Regions from separate parts of the Homo sapiens genome. Here all the other regions are linked to region 1. The links are contacts of gene promoters, found by promoter capture Hi-C in blood cells and fetal thymus (Javierre and others, 2016). All regions are on one chromosome and are shown on one strand. Each heading gives the region's core, a stretch centred on a gene start or on the middle of the fragment in contact. The rest is flanking DNA. Distances are from core to core; before and after follow the strand shown. Region 1 holds the start of SMPD1 (sphingomyelin phosphodiesterase 1). Region 2 overlaps PPFIBP2 (PPFIB scaffold protein 2). Region 3 overlaps PPFIBP2 (PPFIB scaffold protein 2).

The links. Contacts are between HindIII fragments. The CHiCAGO score rates a contact against its expected background, and 5 or more counts as called.
Region 2: a fragment that was not itself captured here is called in contact with the fragment with the promoter of SMPD1 in region 1 in 1 of 17 cell types (total CD4 T cells); the score reaches 5.1 in total CD4 T cells.
Region 3: a contact is called between a fragment that was not itself captured here and the fragment with the promoter of SMPD1 in region 1, in 1 of 17 cell types (M0 macrophages). The highest score is 5.9, in M0 macrophages.

What each region holds. Positions count from the first base shown.
Region 1 is chr11:6,386,959-6,391,723 of GRCh38, reverse strand. It overlaps SMPD1 (sphingomyelin phosphodiesterase 1), which reads right to left and starts at 1,250. Exons shown (of 6, transcript NM_000543.5): 1 at 808-1,250; 2 at 1-340. The coding sequence starts at 1,125. LOC124902624 (a long non-coding RNA gene) reads left to right here and starts at 1,368. Exons shown (of 2, transcript XR_007062573.1): 1 at 1,368-1,617. RefSeq lists a silencer at 1,034-1,533. The HindIII fragment of the contact is 7,977 bases long and covers 1-2,299 here.
Region 2 is chr11:7,524,988-7,529,382 of GRCh38, reverse strand. The region is part of intron 1 of PPFIBP2 (PPFIB scaffold protein 2); the gene reads right to left. All of the region lies in intron 1 of LOC124902806 (leucine-rich repeat extensin-like protein 5), which reads left to right. Among named protein-coding and RNA genes, the nearest start is that of PPFIBP2, 13 kb to the right of the region's middle. RefSeq lists an enhancer at 443-492. The HindIII fragment of the contact is 1,741 bases long and covers 898-2,638 here.
Region 3 is chr11:7,575,542-7,580,408 of GRCh38, reverse strand. The region is part of intron 3 of PPFIBP2 (PPFIB scaffold protein 2); the gene reads right to left. The region is part of intron 3 of LOC105376535 (a long non-coding RNA gene); the gene reads left to right. Among named protein-coding and RNA genes, the nearest start is that of PPFIBP2, 64 kb to the right of the region's middle. RefSeq lists an enhancer at 2,087-2,166 and a silencer at 2,237-2,471. The HindIII fragment of the contact is 1,428 bases long and covers 872-2,299 here.

The sequences.
Region 1 (4,765 bases), core at 1-2,500:
CCGTGCCCTCCAGGTAGTCATGATCCCAGTGCAGGTCAGTGAGGAAGAGGATGCGGCTGACAGGGGCACCTGGGGCTGGGGGGCTAGGGGGTTTGGGGGGCGGCTTCGGCACAGTAGGCAAAGAGATGTTCCAAGATGAGAAAATGTCCCAGTGCCCACAGGTGGAGCCCAGGAGCAGGCCACAGGCCTCAGATGGGCTCAGCACTGAGCGTCTCCACACCTCCACCATGTCATCCTCAAAGAGGTGGACAATGGATTGGCACACGGCAGGTGGTGCTATCTTCAGCAGATTGCACAGCTTGATGGCCACGGAGCCCACGCGAGCCACATTGGGTTCCTTCTGCAGTGGGAGGAGCGCATGGTGAGAAATCAGAGGCAGAGCAGAGGAACCAGGCCAACCCCTGGCCACCACCCCTTGGGCCTCCATTTCCAAACTGGGGCTGGGCAGGACTCAGTGCACCAAGCTCAGTGCACACCTTTGCCTTCCAGATATTGCCCTGTAACTCAGGCAGCACCAGGCCATCGCTTCTTCTTTAGCTCAGCGGCCTGTGGCATGAGGCCTTTGCTTGGCAAGCTGACTTCCTCAGGCACTGTCTGCATTATTTTCTTACTTCACAAAGGTCACAATGGGGTGATGGTGGCATGTAGCCATGGGTGTCCCCAAAGGGGAGCAAACTCAGTGATGGATTGTAGATGCCACCCTCTCCATCAGGGATGCATTCTGAGCCCAGCGCACCAGCATCAGCCCCAGCCCCCAGCCCCAGCACTCCTTTCGGCCTCCTCCACTGCAGCCCCTTCAGTGCTCACCTTCAGCCCGAGGTTGATGGCGGTGAATAGACCTTTGCAGATTGGGCAGGTGAGGTTCCCCCACCCAAAGACATCTCGGAGCCGGGGCACTATGCGATGTAACCTGGCAGGATGGCCTTGGGGAGAAAGAGGGTGAGCCTCTGCCGGAGCCCAGAGAACCCGAGAGTCAGACAGAGCCAGCGCCAGCGCCAGCGCCAGCGCCAGCGCCAGCACCAGGCCCATCCAAAGGAGTCCGGGGGCTCCGGCGGTCCCGTCTTGTCCCTGCTCCCGGCCGGACCTGGGGCAGCTCTGGCGGAGTGACGCTCCGTAGCGGGGCATTGTCGCGCTTCCTACACGGGGCTGGTTCGTCTGTCCCGTCCCCCCCGGCCTGGACCCTAGCCAGCCCTCAGGGCCCCGGGCGGCGCCGGGGACACCCGATTACCCTTCTCTGTAGTCGGCTGACTGCTCCGCGGCCGGCCGCAAAGCAGCTCCGCCCCTTCCTCTTCCTCTGATCTCTGACAGCTGATCTCTCGGTGGCGGGCGGCTGTCAACGCTGCGGAGGCGGAGGGGGCGGGGCGCTCCCGGGACCGCCCCGATTCCGCCCCCTCTCCCTGCCCCCGCCCTGCCCCGGGCGCACGGGCTGCGGGGGTGGGGACTCTCCCTGAGGTCACCAGGGGCTCCGCCTTGAGGTCACAGCCGCGGGAGGCCGTGCTCGTGCTTTGGAGCTCCATGTGATGTGGTCGGTGGAAGACGTCTCCTTTGTCAGAATCCGCGCTCAGATTCCCGGAATAGCTGCCAGACCGACCCCAGCGTTTAGCCCGGGAAGGGGAGGTAGGAGAGAGCAGGGCGGGCAGGATCCTCCCACTGGGTGTGTTGCCTCTGACAGGAAGGCGCCTTCCCTCGATTCCCCATGCTCTGCCACTGGCACCAGCCCTCTTGAGTCACCCTGAGAATCACTCACCTGTGATTCAGATGAGGAAACAAACCTTAGAGATGGTGAAGAGACTAGGAAGCCGTAAAGACCATATAGCCGTGGGGGCCAATAACATGGGCGGGAACCCAATTGGGTCTCCCACCTCCGTGTATCCACGACAGTAAAAGCGAGCATTTATGGAGTTGTTTATGATGTGCCAAGCACCAACCCAGGCACTTTATAATTAATAATCTTCAATTCTCACAACAACCCTAAGAAGTACCTATTATATTGGGGCTCAGAAATCCATACCCAAAATATGGTGGTTTGACTTACTAAGTTAAGCCTTAAGGTGTGTCTGGCCTTCCTACTCCCGCGCCCTCTCTCCCAAAGCCGTTACCTAGCGTCCAGACCCATCAAAAGGAACAACGGTTTTTTTCTTCCCCTCCCTACAAAACCAAGAATATAATCACACCTGAACAGACCCCTTCACATGATAATGTGCTAGTTAATCTGTTCCCTGATCCATTCCTTCTCCCTCAGCAGAATTCCTCTTCCCCTCACTCCCACAACCCCCTTTGCCTGAATGACACCTAAGCTTCTGAACTCGTCTGGGAAGTGGGTAGTCACTCTGTGGTTCCCCGTGGACACATTAATACAATTTCTATGCCTTTTCTTCAATTAATCTGTTTTTTGTGGGTTGATTTTTCAGCAGAATTTCAGAGGGCGAAGGGAAAGTTTCCCTTGGTCCCTGCAAATACTATTATTACCCTCCTTTACAGATAGGATGAGGCACAAAGAAGTTAAGTGGCAGAATAGCAATTAAACCCTAAGCTGTTTGACGAGTGCTTCTGAGGAATCCTCAGAGCTATCAAGTCCTGTCAGTTCTTTCCTTTGATAATTTTTTACAAGTGTTTTTTCCCCCCAGTTCTGGGGACATCATCTCAGATAGAGTACTCACAGTAATAATTAGCATGCATTTTTAAGATTATGTACTATGAAAAACAAAACAAAACAAAACCTTTTTATCTAAGGAAGATGAGCCCCTTTAAATTATCAGGCCCAGACAGGCATTTAAAATGTAGCAACAGTCACTCTCACTCTTCTTTGAGCTAAGTAATTATCTCTTGAAACCACTTGCTATGCCAAGTAGCCATTAAATGCCATACACCTTATAGTTCAACAATGTATAGCCAAGCGCTAAACAATGTATAACCAGTGTTATTTCTGTAAACAATGAGAATTCCTGATGAACAACTTTTGTATTCATTTCCTCTCCTAATTCATCTTTTTTTCTTTGAAAATATGAGCCTCTCTTTTGTTGTCCAGAGTGCTCCCCCAAGACAACTTGCAAGTGTGTCCTGGGTCGCAGTCCTCAACCTTGGCCCTTGGCCCGAATAACCCTCTGTAGGTACTTTTCTGAGGACTCTGCCTTACGTTAATCCTCACAACAAATTTGGAAGTCGGTATTATAATTATCCCCATTTTACGGAGAAGGAAAGTAGGATTAAGTAAGTGGCTCAAGATCCCACAGCTAGCTAGTAAGTGCTGGAACTGGAATTTGGATGTGTCAAGCAAAACATGTCTGAGACAGGTCTCAATCAATTTAGAGGTTTATTTTGCCAAGGTTAAGGACATGGCTGGAAGAAATAAACACGGAATCGCAGAAACAGTCTGTGGTCTGTGGCTTTCTCCAAAGATGATTTTGAGGGCTTCAATATTTAAAGGGGAAAAGTGAGCTGGAGGGAAAGAAGAAGGGTATGGTAATCCACATGTCGCAAGAGAAAAGGAGCAGGTAGGGAGATACTCAATTATGTGTTCGTCTGGCACTTTACATAAGATAAAGTAAATATGCCTGTGGAGATATTTAACCTTTTGTGTTTTTTTTGTTTTTTTTTTTTTGAGACAGAGTTTTCGCTGTTGTTGACCAGGCTGGAGTGCAATGGCGCAATCTCGGCTCACCACAACCTCTGCCTCCCGGGTTCAAGTGATTCTCCTGCCTCAGCCTACTGAGTAGCTGGGATTACAGGCATGTGCCACCACACCCGGCTAATTTTGTAAATATTTAACCTTTTGTCTGTAGCTATCTGCTTAGGAACAAAAGGAAAGGCAGCTTCTTGCATGACTCAGTTTTCAGTTTATTTTTTTTCCTTTTGGCATAGTCAACTGGAGTCCTGAGTTTTTATTTTCCTTTCACAAATGCAACATTCTGGCTCTATTCTTTGCTGTGTGGGGACCCATTCAGAACACCAGAGTTGGTATAACAATTATTTTAAGCCGAAGACATTTCAGATTCAATAGATGCAGAAATAAACCTTCTGGGAGCTTTCTTCATCTGATTAAAACTTCTGGGAAATGTCAACCTAAAGGGAAAAATCTAAGGCAAACTTGATATAAGTAGAGAGTTTATTTGGGCCAAGTTTGAAGACTGTGAAGCGAAGATTCAAGTTGCCCTGAGTATATGCTCCCAATTAGCAGAAGTCACAAGTGGGTTTTTAAAGGAGAAGAAGAGGCAGTTCCTAATGAGGACTAAGCTCTGATTTTTTCTTATCTTGCTCAAATTCCTATCGAAAGGGTCTGGGGAGTCATGCCCTACAAACCATAAATTCTTATCAGTTGGGTTTTATTTAACACTATATATTGTGACTGCCTTTTCAGTCATACTCTGGCATAAAATTACGTGATAAAGAAGAAAGTCAAAATATTTTACCCCAAAACATGTTTCTTTGCCATATATATATATATATATATATATATATATATATATATATATATGTTTTTTGGTTTGGGGTGGGGGGCGGGACAGAGTTTCACTCTTATTGCCCGGGCTGGAGTGCAATGGGGTGATCTTGGCTTACTGCAACCTCCCCCACCCAGATTCAAGGGATTCTCCTGCCTCAGCCTCCCGAGTAGCTGGGATTACAGGCACCCACCACCACCATGCCCAGCTAATTTTTGTATTGTTAATAAAGATGGGGTTTTGCCATGCTGGCCAGGCTGGTCTCGAACTTCTGACCTCAGGTGATCCGCCTGCCTTGGCCTCCCAAAGTACTGGGATTACAGGAG
Region 2 (4,395 bases), core at 519-3,018, 1.1 Mb before region 1:
GATGTGTAACAGTGATGTAATGAGATGCATTTTTCATGGAGCCGATAAGATCTGTCTCATTAACTCCATTTCCCATTCAGCTGTCACTTGGCTTATCTAAAATTCTCTTTTAAATATAAATCATAACATTTGAGGACTGGATTTGTGACCCTGGAAGAGCCTTTAACGGGTTCTCACAGTGTACCTTATTAAGTGGTAGGACAAGGAGGTAGAGCTTCCTCCCACATTGTCTCCTGTTAACATGAAATCCTGCGTCACTGCAGCCCAGATGCTCCCCCAACTTCTTCCTCTGAATATTTCCTCTGTCTTCTCAGTGGTTACTATTGCCTCGCAGGTGGTCTCAACTTTTCTCTCCAGGCTGAGGAAAAGCCTCCCATTAGGAAGTCTGAAGGACCCTGGGTCCACCCTGAGGACAGAAGCAAGGCGTGGCCACCAGGGCTAGATCTGAGTTCTGAGCTCCAGGAGGAAGGCCAAACTGGATGGAGAACTGGGCCCTGGGCAGACCTGCTCAGCAACAAAGACTGGCTGACTGTACTAGATATACGCATAAGAACCCCAACTTGAGCAGGCAGTCCTCACCAACACCCACCTGCTCAGAGCTTGAACATGTGATCTGTGAAAACAATGTTGTCCTTTCATGCAGGTATCCCAGCACCCACTCTACACCCCTGCATGGGCAGGCTCTCAGCAAATGCTTACTGAACTGTATCGGTCCCTCCTCTCAACCCCTACAGCCCCACCTGGGTTACTGCCCACATTTCTCTGACTCTTACCCTCATCCCACGCTTCCAAACCTCTTGGAGTACCACTCTTGCTAAACATCTCTTAGGGCTGACACCTTGGTATCCTAAACAGGTAAGGTTGGTTGTAGGTAACTTGTTACTAATGATAGAAGCTTTTTGTATAAATTAGAGAAGATTCAGGCTTATCTTGCCCCATTCTAATATACTTTATTGAAGGGATGAGAAAATACTGGAATTCAGCCAGCAATTCAGAAATTGCCTATAGTGGTCTGGGAGTAACAGTTTCTATTGTAATGTGAAAACTGCATTTAGGAAGTTAGAGATTAACTTCCTAAATATATATGTGTATGCATGCATATATATGTATTAGAACTCAGATATGCTTTGTGACTATCTGGCCATGTCCACTAAGTGCCTCTCAAAGGTTAATGTGGTTTGCCATGTGCCATCTGACCATCTTCCTGCCTAAATACGGTAAGAACAGGTCTTCACTGTAAATTTAAGACTGCATAATCTGGACTCTAAACATAGTGGCAAGATTAAGTGGAAAGAACAGAGTTTGGGGTCAGGCAGCCTGGACATCAATTTTATTTTGGCCACTCACCACCTAGGGAAACTTGAGATGATCAGGTATCTTCTTGAAGCCCATTTCCTCCTCAGTTAAAGCCCTGAAAGGCTGCTTTGAAATTTAAGTGAGCACAGACTCTGTGCTCAATGCCTGATGCATGATGGGTACTTCATAGACGGTAATTTCCAATCCCTGGTGCCCTATTTAACTTCGTTTACTCTTCAGTTCCAGCCAAATCATGCCGCCAGTTGTTTTCCACAGGTGCCCCTTAATTGGCATTACTCATGCCTTCCTTTGTGCACTGCTGTTCCCTCTGCCAGCAATTCCCTTCAGCCCCATAGAAACGGGCAACTCTGGTCCCTGTCTTTCCTTCAGGACACACCTCAAATGCCACCTCCTCAGCAAGCCAGGCCCCCCCAACATCTTTCTCTGAATATTAACTGTATTTTCTCAGCAGTTACTACTATCTGTTTGAGTAAGGGGGTACATTTCTTAAGTTCCATTCAGTCAGGGGACATGTCTGTTCATCTTGTGGTCCCATCATCACCATTCTCAGCATAGACAATGGTTCAAAAATTATTTAGAGGCTGAAATAATAAATACTGTCACAATCCTACTGATTCCACAGTACCTGAGAAGTATGCTCTACCTCTGCTGCTAAAGGGTAGGTTTCCCCAGATCCAATGGGCCAGTTCTGACCTTGGGGTTCCATGGCCACTCTTCCTACCATTCTTGCCAGACTCCTTCCCTGCCACCCAGACCAAGATATCACACTGCTCAGACATCCACGTTGCCTAACCACAGCAACTCTCTCCTCCCATACACCACACCCCACCCAAAACCTCAGCCTACTTGAATGAGGCCCTGGTACCCACATCCCTTCCTTGCCTCCCCTCCCAGGGATGGAACCTTGCTCACTCTATGGCCCAAGGTGCAGACAGTCAGACTTCCTAGGGTATGGTAGGTATAGAAGGGAGTGATCCAGGAGGACATTCTTGTGACCAGTGTCCTCCTGGATCACTCCCTTCTATACCTGCTATGCCCTCTAGGATGCTGTGAACCCAGCTGTCTCACACCACATACCCTGGTTCTCCAGGTCTCAGGATGGTGTGTTCTCAAAATCTTCAAGGGGTGGCAAGTGAGTCTAAAACAGCTTTCAGATGGTTGGGCCAAGGTAGGCATCAGCAAAGAATATACACAGTCCAGTCACTTCTTGGGATCATAGTCTCATTTTCAGCCCACAAAGACATTTGCTCAGAGCCTTTCCCCTCTCCCAGCCCTTGTCACTAAGTGGGATGTTCAGCCTGCGACTTGGGATAGAGAAGCTTCCGCATAGTCACGCCGGGCTAATTTTTTGTATTTTAGTAGAGATGGGGTTTCACCGTGTTAGCCAGGATGGTCTCAATCTCCTGACCTCGTGATCTGCCCACCCTCGGCCTCCCAAAGTGCTGGGATTACAGGCGTGAGCCACCGCACCCGGCCGCTTCTGCACAGCTTTAAGGCTGCTCTTTCCCCAGCCTCCCACCCTCACTCCAGCCTACATCTGCTGCAAGTCATTTCTGCTCAGAAGCCACCAATTATTCCCCACTACCGACAGGGTAAAGTCCAGCTTCTTAGTTTGGCATTCAAGTTCCTTTTCCCTTAGAGTCCCAACTTCTTTCTTTGACTTTTAATAATGGGAAGAGTCTAGCTAAGCTGGTTTCCTTATTATTTCTCGATCCCACTTCACTCACTTGGGCTTCTATGCCTTTTACTCACTTGACTGACCAGGGATCCCCAGAGAGCCTTTTCTTCCCAGCTCCCCAGGATCCCACCCCAGTTGGTTGATCCACAAAGCCTTCCCTTTGCCAAAATCTTACAGCACTTTAGTTAGATCTATAACCTTTCAGTATACCTTCCTCCCTGTTATTTCATAAACTCCTCTCTAGTCAATACTGCTTGAACAATACCCTTTGCAGGTAGACTCCAATATCTGCTCTAAAACAGCGGTTTGGCCCTAGAGACAAGCCTGAGTTCTTTAAAATTTCTTACATTATGTCAAAGTAGAATCTGCTCCGTCTTTAGTTTTCTTTGACATCACTACCATAGGCCTTCATCTCTGCCCTCTGAGCAACAAAGAACATGCTGCCCACCTTGCCCACCTGAAAATAGCAGTCATTCCCCTATATCTTCCTGACTGTCCTTGGGCCCCTCCAAAGCTTGTAAGACAGGGATACCGGCTTTGCACACTCCAGGTGTGGCCAGTCTCAGCCAATGCAGGGAAAAGATCCTCTACCAAGGTCTAAACCCAGGACTTCAATTAATGTAGCCAGGCTAAGCCAATGTATTGGGCTTTTCCACATAGATGGGTAGGACACTCACACAATTGATTTTCAGGGCCTAAGGGCAGGACTTTGCACTTAACCCTGCCACATCTCATCCAGCTGGTTTGGACTCTGCGCTGTTTGCTGCTTTTGTCCTGTACGTGGGTGACCAGCCACCTGATTCCGGGCTGTTCTCTACCTTGTCATGGACTTCTGCCTCCTGGAATTTCTGCTCACCGCCACCATGGTTGCCCTTTCTGTGTCATACCTGGAAGCCCAGAGCATGCAACTTCCCACCTGAAATTTCAGGATAAGCCCTCTGGATGATCTAAATATCTCTTGATAAATGATTTCTCTCAAGCTTCCTGAGACGGGAATAAAAGGATTTACTGACTACCTATGATGTGCCAAGCACTGGAGTCAACATTTCATCTCATTTAATTTTCACAACCACCAAATGAATTGGCCTATTATTGTTCCCATTAAACAGATGAGGAATGTAAAGCTCAAAGAGGTACGGAGCAATAGCGAATTGGTGTAGAGCTATTTTAATCGAGGACTGTCTGATTCAAACCCTCCACTCTAGAGCTACCAGGGCCCACAGGAGTTAGGGAGGCCAAGTCCTCATGCTGGAGAAAACCTCCTGCCTGCCATGATAGAATGAGGGGGCAGGACAGGCAAGAGGAGTCAGCTTCCTCATTTCCACAAGCAGAACAATAATCCCTGCCCGGGGCATTGTGCCGCACCAGTGAGCAGGCACAGTGAAAACCCAGACAGACAC
Region 3 (4,867 bases), core at 336-2,835, 1.2 Mb before region 1:
GGAGAATGAAGACGATAGTGTTTCTACCTTCAAAAGCATGAGTTCAGAGAAACCAGCTCTCCACACCACCTCAGCTGAAGCACAGGAGAAAGGGTGGGTGAGCCATGCAGATGGGAAGTGCTGCAGACCTGGGCTACAGGAGGTGGGGAGGGAGGGCCAGCAGAGGTTTCCTGGGAAAAGACAGCCTGGATGGAGTCAGTTGAAGTGGATGAGAGTTAGAGAGGAGGTGGTCATCTGTGGTAAAAGCTCAGAAAAGGGAAGAAATACACTTGGGAGCTCATCAGGGTAGATATAAAAGATAAAACTAAAAAGGTAAGTTGAGGTTGGGCTGCTAATGGTCTCAAAGGCCAAGCAAGCCGAAGGGCCTGATTTTTCTTCCAGATTAAGGGTGAGTCCAGGGGGGCTCATCACTGGGGTCACAGGACGAAAGGGAATTTGTTTTTTTTGTTTTTTTTTTTAAGAAGATTTTAAAAATCTGGCAGTAGTGTTTAGGGTAGAGAATAGTGAAAATACTCTTATCACACTGCCAATGACATGTCTACACTTTGAGTTTTGCTTTTGTAAAATGCTCTTTAAAATTCTAAAAGTAGAAGAAAAATATCTGTTTTGCTATGAGTCATCCTGGGGGTTTCTAAAGTCTCCTTGCTTAAAGTTTCCCTAAGCAAACTTCCAACTGTCCACAGGAGCCAGCATACCCTGGGTCTTGGGACAAGAAGGGCCTTCTTACATTGCATCACATGCAAAATTAGTTCCTCCACACACATAACTTCTCCTGTAGCAGGCAGAGTTACAGTATCTGCCCCAGGGGCTGGGACAAGGCTCTGACAATCCCAGGCACATGTTGGCTGAAAGGATTTCTTGATTAAAAGCTTCATTTGGGATACAGGGAAAGAAGGACCAAGTGATGGTCAGTGCATTTCTTACATATTTCCTTTCAGTATCTCCCCAGTGGGGCTTAAAAAAAAAACCTAAGATGATGCAAACCTTTGCCAAAACGTCTGGTCATCTCAGCATGCTTTCTGGTGACTGTGATGCCCTAGGGGCTGGGCACAGACAGGATTTCTGCTGGGTTCTAAAGCAATAATTTTATACATATTTGGCAGAGAAAATGAATAAAGAGAACTAGACTGGGAGATAGAGAACAGGGTTCAAGACCAGGCTGCACCACTAATAGCTATGACACTAATACCATGAGGTTCTTAGCCCCTCTTGGGCTTTGTTAAATGAGGGGTTTGTACTATCCCATCCCTCCAAGCCCTCCAGCCCTATAATTGTGTTCAGTTGCCTCACTTTTCCCAACATAGCTTACCATATACCACATCACAGCTAGAGTAATTTTCTTAAAATACAAACTAGACCCCCCCCAATGTATCCCATGTCACTTCCCTGCTACAAGTCCCCCAGCACACAAACCAGGTTGCCCAAAAGCCTTACCGTGGCCTTCACTGTCCTGCGTGATCCCAGCCTCTGCCCGCCTCTGTCTGCCATCACTGTGCTCAGCCACATGGGCTCTCTCTCAATCTGGACAATCAGCAGACTCCATCTTGCTTTAGGACCTTTGTATATACATCATCCCCTATGCCCCATTTGCCTGGAATGTTCTTCACCCCATTCTTCACCTGACTCATTCTTACTGCTCTTTCAGTTTTCAGCGAAGTATAATTTCCTCAAACTCCCTGACCGCCCCAACCCCCTTCTCCATCAAAACAGCAGTCCCGTGTCTTCTGTTCTTCCTCCAGGCACACTTATTGTTTGTAATCTGAGGTTTATTTCCTGGGACTGTTTCACCTACATCTCCAGTATTAGGTAGAAGATCCACAAGAGGCTGGTTCTATTTTGCTCACTACTATACACCCAGTACCCAAACTCAGTACAGATTTGCTGAATGAGTGCTGCTGCACTCACACAAAAGCCAGCCAGCTCAGTGTCCGGGAGTCGGGGTCCGGGCATCTGCATGCCCCTTCCAAGCTGGACACTTCCTGGTTCTTCTGTCCTTCTGCAGTTACAATGTCAAATCTCTAACCTGTCAGCTGCTTTTGCCCTTCCTGCCTCTGAAAAACACTCAGCCTAAAATCCCTTCGTGTGAAAATAAATTCATACCTATCTTAGCCAATTTAAAGGCAGCCACAAAAGAGGAAACAGCCTGAATTCTAGGAGTATGATGCTACTCCAGCCCCCAACGTCCGTTCATTCCTTGCTCATACCACACACTCAGGTTTATCCTCTAAAGAAAGGGCATGAACAACTTGCAACATAAACCCTCAGCTTCAGAGCATTCAAAGAGAACTCCCTGAAAGCTTTCCTCCGGAAATGCAGAAGCTCATTCTGCTGACAGCAGATGTGTGCTCCACCGGATAACATCAGAGTGAGAACGAGTTAAACAACTTCCGAATCCAATGCATTTAAAAAGGCAGCAGCTTCCTCCCTGTGTCCTCAAACTGAAAAGCGGTGGGCACATTCTTCTGGTCACGGTGTTTGGAGCCTCTGACTGTTTAGGTGCCAAAGTTAAAATAACCAACTTTCCTCACTCCATTCTTGCCTTTCTGTACAGAGGCTCATTCACTAGAATGTCAGTGGAGAAACAAAGACAGCTGACTGTTTTCTCCCTGGTGTCTATAATTAGATTCTCATGAAGAACTTGGCCACAGCAGGGCTTTGCTGGACAATACCTCCCCCTACCACACACAGGCACACACACCCCAAAACACCCCAAAGCGTCTCCCCCTCACTTATCTCCACGGAGACCCAGACAAAGCAGCCAGTCACTTACCCTCTTCAGCCACGAGAAATGCTTGTAAACATCAATGTCCCCATCCATGCTGGGCACCCATGTCAGCAGTTAGATGCCTTGGTGGAAAAAGCCCTTTTCCTGGCTGGAGACCAGTTCTCTCCTCTTCCTTGCCTCTGCCCCCTCCCCCCTCAAGAACTCCAAGCTGTGTTCAAATTTCCCCACTTCCCTGGCCTGCGTCCTTCAGCCTCTCCCTAGACAGTTTCAGACACACAGCGACACAGAGCAGACCGTGCTGCTTCAGTGTCCTCCCCGACCACCCCAACAAACACACACACACACACACACACACACACACACGCACATACATGCACGCACACGCACCAGGACTGGGATTCAGAGCCCTGCGGAGAAATCAAATGTCACACAAAGGTAGAGAAAAAAGAAAGAAGACTTGGACAGAAGTTGTAAACATGACACACACGCACACACACACGGGACCATTCTCAGTGATAATACCGGAGCCTGCCAGAGGGAAACAGTCCTGAAGAAAATTCCTTGTCTGGCTTCCCCCTTCTGGAGTGGCTGGAACTCATTACTGAGAGCCCCGATTTCCTGTCTCTGCTTCACTCTGCATTTACCCAGGGCTCCCAGCTGCTCTCAGTTTATTTGGGACTGGGGAGAAGACTAAAAATAAGTGCTGCTCTTGGAGGAGCTCACTGGTTCCCACACACAGCCTGACCCCCGCCCTGAAGCCCACGCCCACCCATTTTCCAGGCGAGTGACGGGCTGTGCCCTGAGGAAAGCCTGTTGTTTCCAAAAAAAAGCAGCTCCAGTCTGGGTTCTTGGTCCTGCTGTGCGACGGGCCCAGCACAGAGCGTTTGCTGTCCTTGGCACTGGTGGTACCATCCATTAGAGACCAACTGCCGCAAACTCAGGGGAGTCTGGCCCTGGACTGTTGGCCACCAGCCAGGGCACCCTGGGGGCCACATTCTGAACAGGGGCCAGGGCTGGAGGGTCCTGCCTCTCTGGCTGTCCCCCACTCTGGGCTACCTGCTTTACAAACCAAGGAGGTGGAAAGGTTGAGGCTGCTTCACGTGCATTTCCATGAGACTCAGGGAGCAGTGCTGGGTAGACAGGGGCCTTGGAAAGGCTGGCGGAGACCTGGAGCTGCAGCTGTTTTCCTCCTTTCAGGGCAGGTCACATGCAGGCTCTCCAGGTGGCCCCTCCAGCACTCCCTAGATGCCACCCCCCACCTCCTCCTATTCCCATCTCCTTTGAGAGCTCCCCACTAAAAACAGCTTTTCTCCCTTCCCCAGCCCTTAATGTGTGGCCTTTGGCTATGGCTGATTATCAAAGTGACCTTTGATGTGGGTGCGGTGGGAACTGTGGTTACACGGTGGGAACTGTGGTTACACGCAAGGCCCCGAGCTCTGCTGTGGCAAAGGACTTGCAGATGCACAGCTTGTGACTGCCTGGGCCTTCCCAGTTCCCTTGGGGGTCACCTCCGGGGTTTCCTGGAACTCCCAGTCTGAAGAGCAGTCCTTCATGCCCCTCATGCCGCATGCCCCTCAGCATGGCTTCAATGTCCACCAGGGCCAGAAGCAGGGCCCAAAAGGGGAGAAACAATGCCTGGCAGCACAGTCCCCGGCAGGCTGGGCCAGCCCACAGAGATCACAGAGGCGGCAAGGAGGAGAGCTCTAGCCAGCAGCTGGCATAAGGGGAGGAGTAAATTCCTGGAGACACACCCAGACAGAGGCCAGAAAGGAAAAGCAGGCTTTGCTGCCCATGCGCTGAGCTCTAGCCCCTTGCTCCTCACCTCTGGCCCTGCTCCACAGCACAGTGTGACCCACCCAGCCCAGGTTCCCTGCCCGTGCTATGGCAGGATGTTGCCAAGGAAGAACATCTCTAAAGGTACAGGGGTCAGTAGGTTGGTTTTTCTCTGTCTAAAAGCCTGAACAAGTCAAATGAAGAAATTCATCCAGTCAATACACATTTTCCCCGCATCCAAGGCAAATGAAAAACTTCATGCCCTGGGTTAAGAATTATCATATGGTATGCAATAAAGGTATATCTGGGACTCCAAGGAAGAGGAGGTAGACAAGCTGATTTGGGAGCTGGACAGGGAGAGGTGGCGCA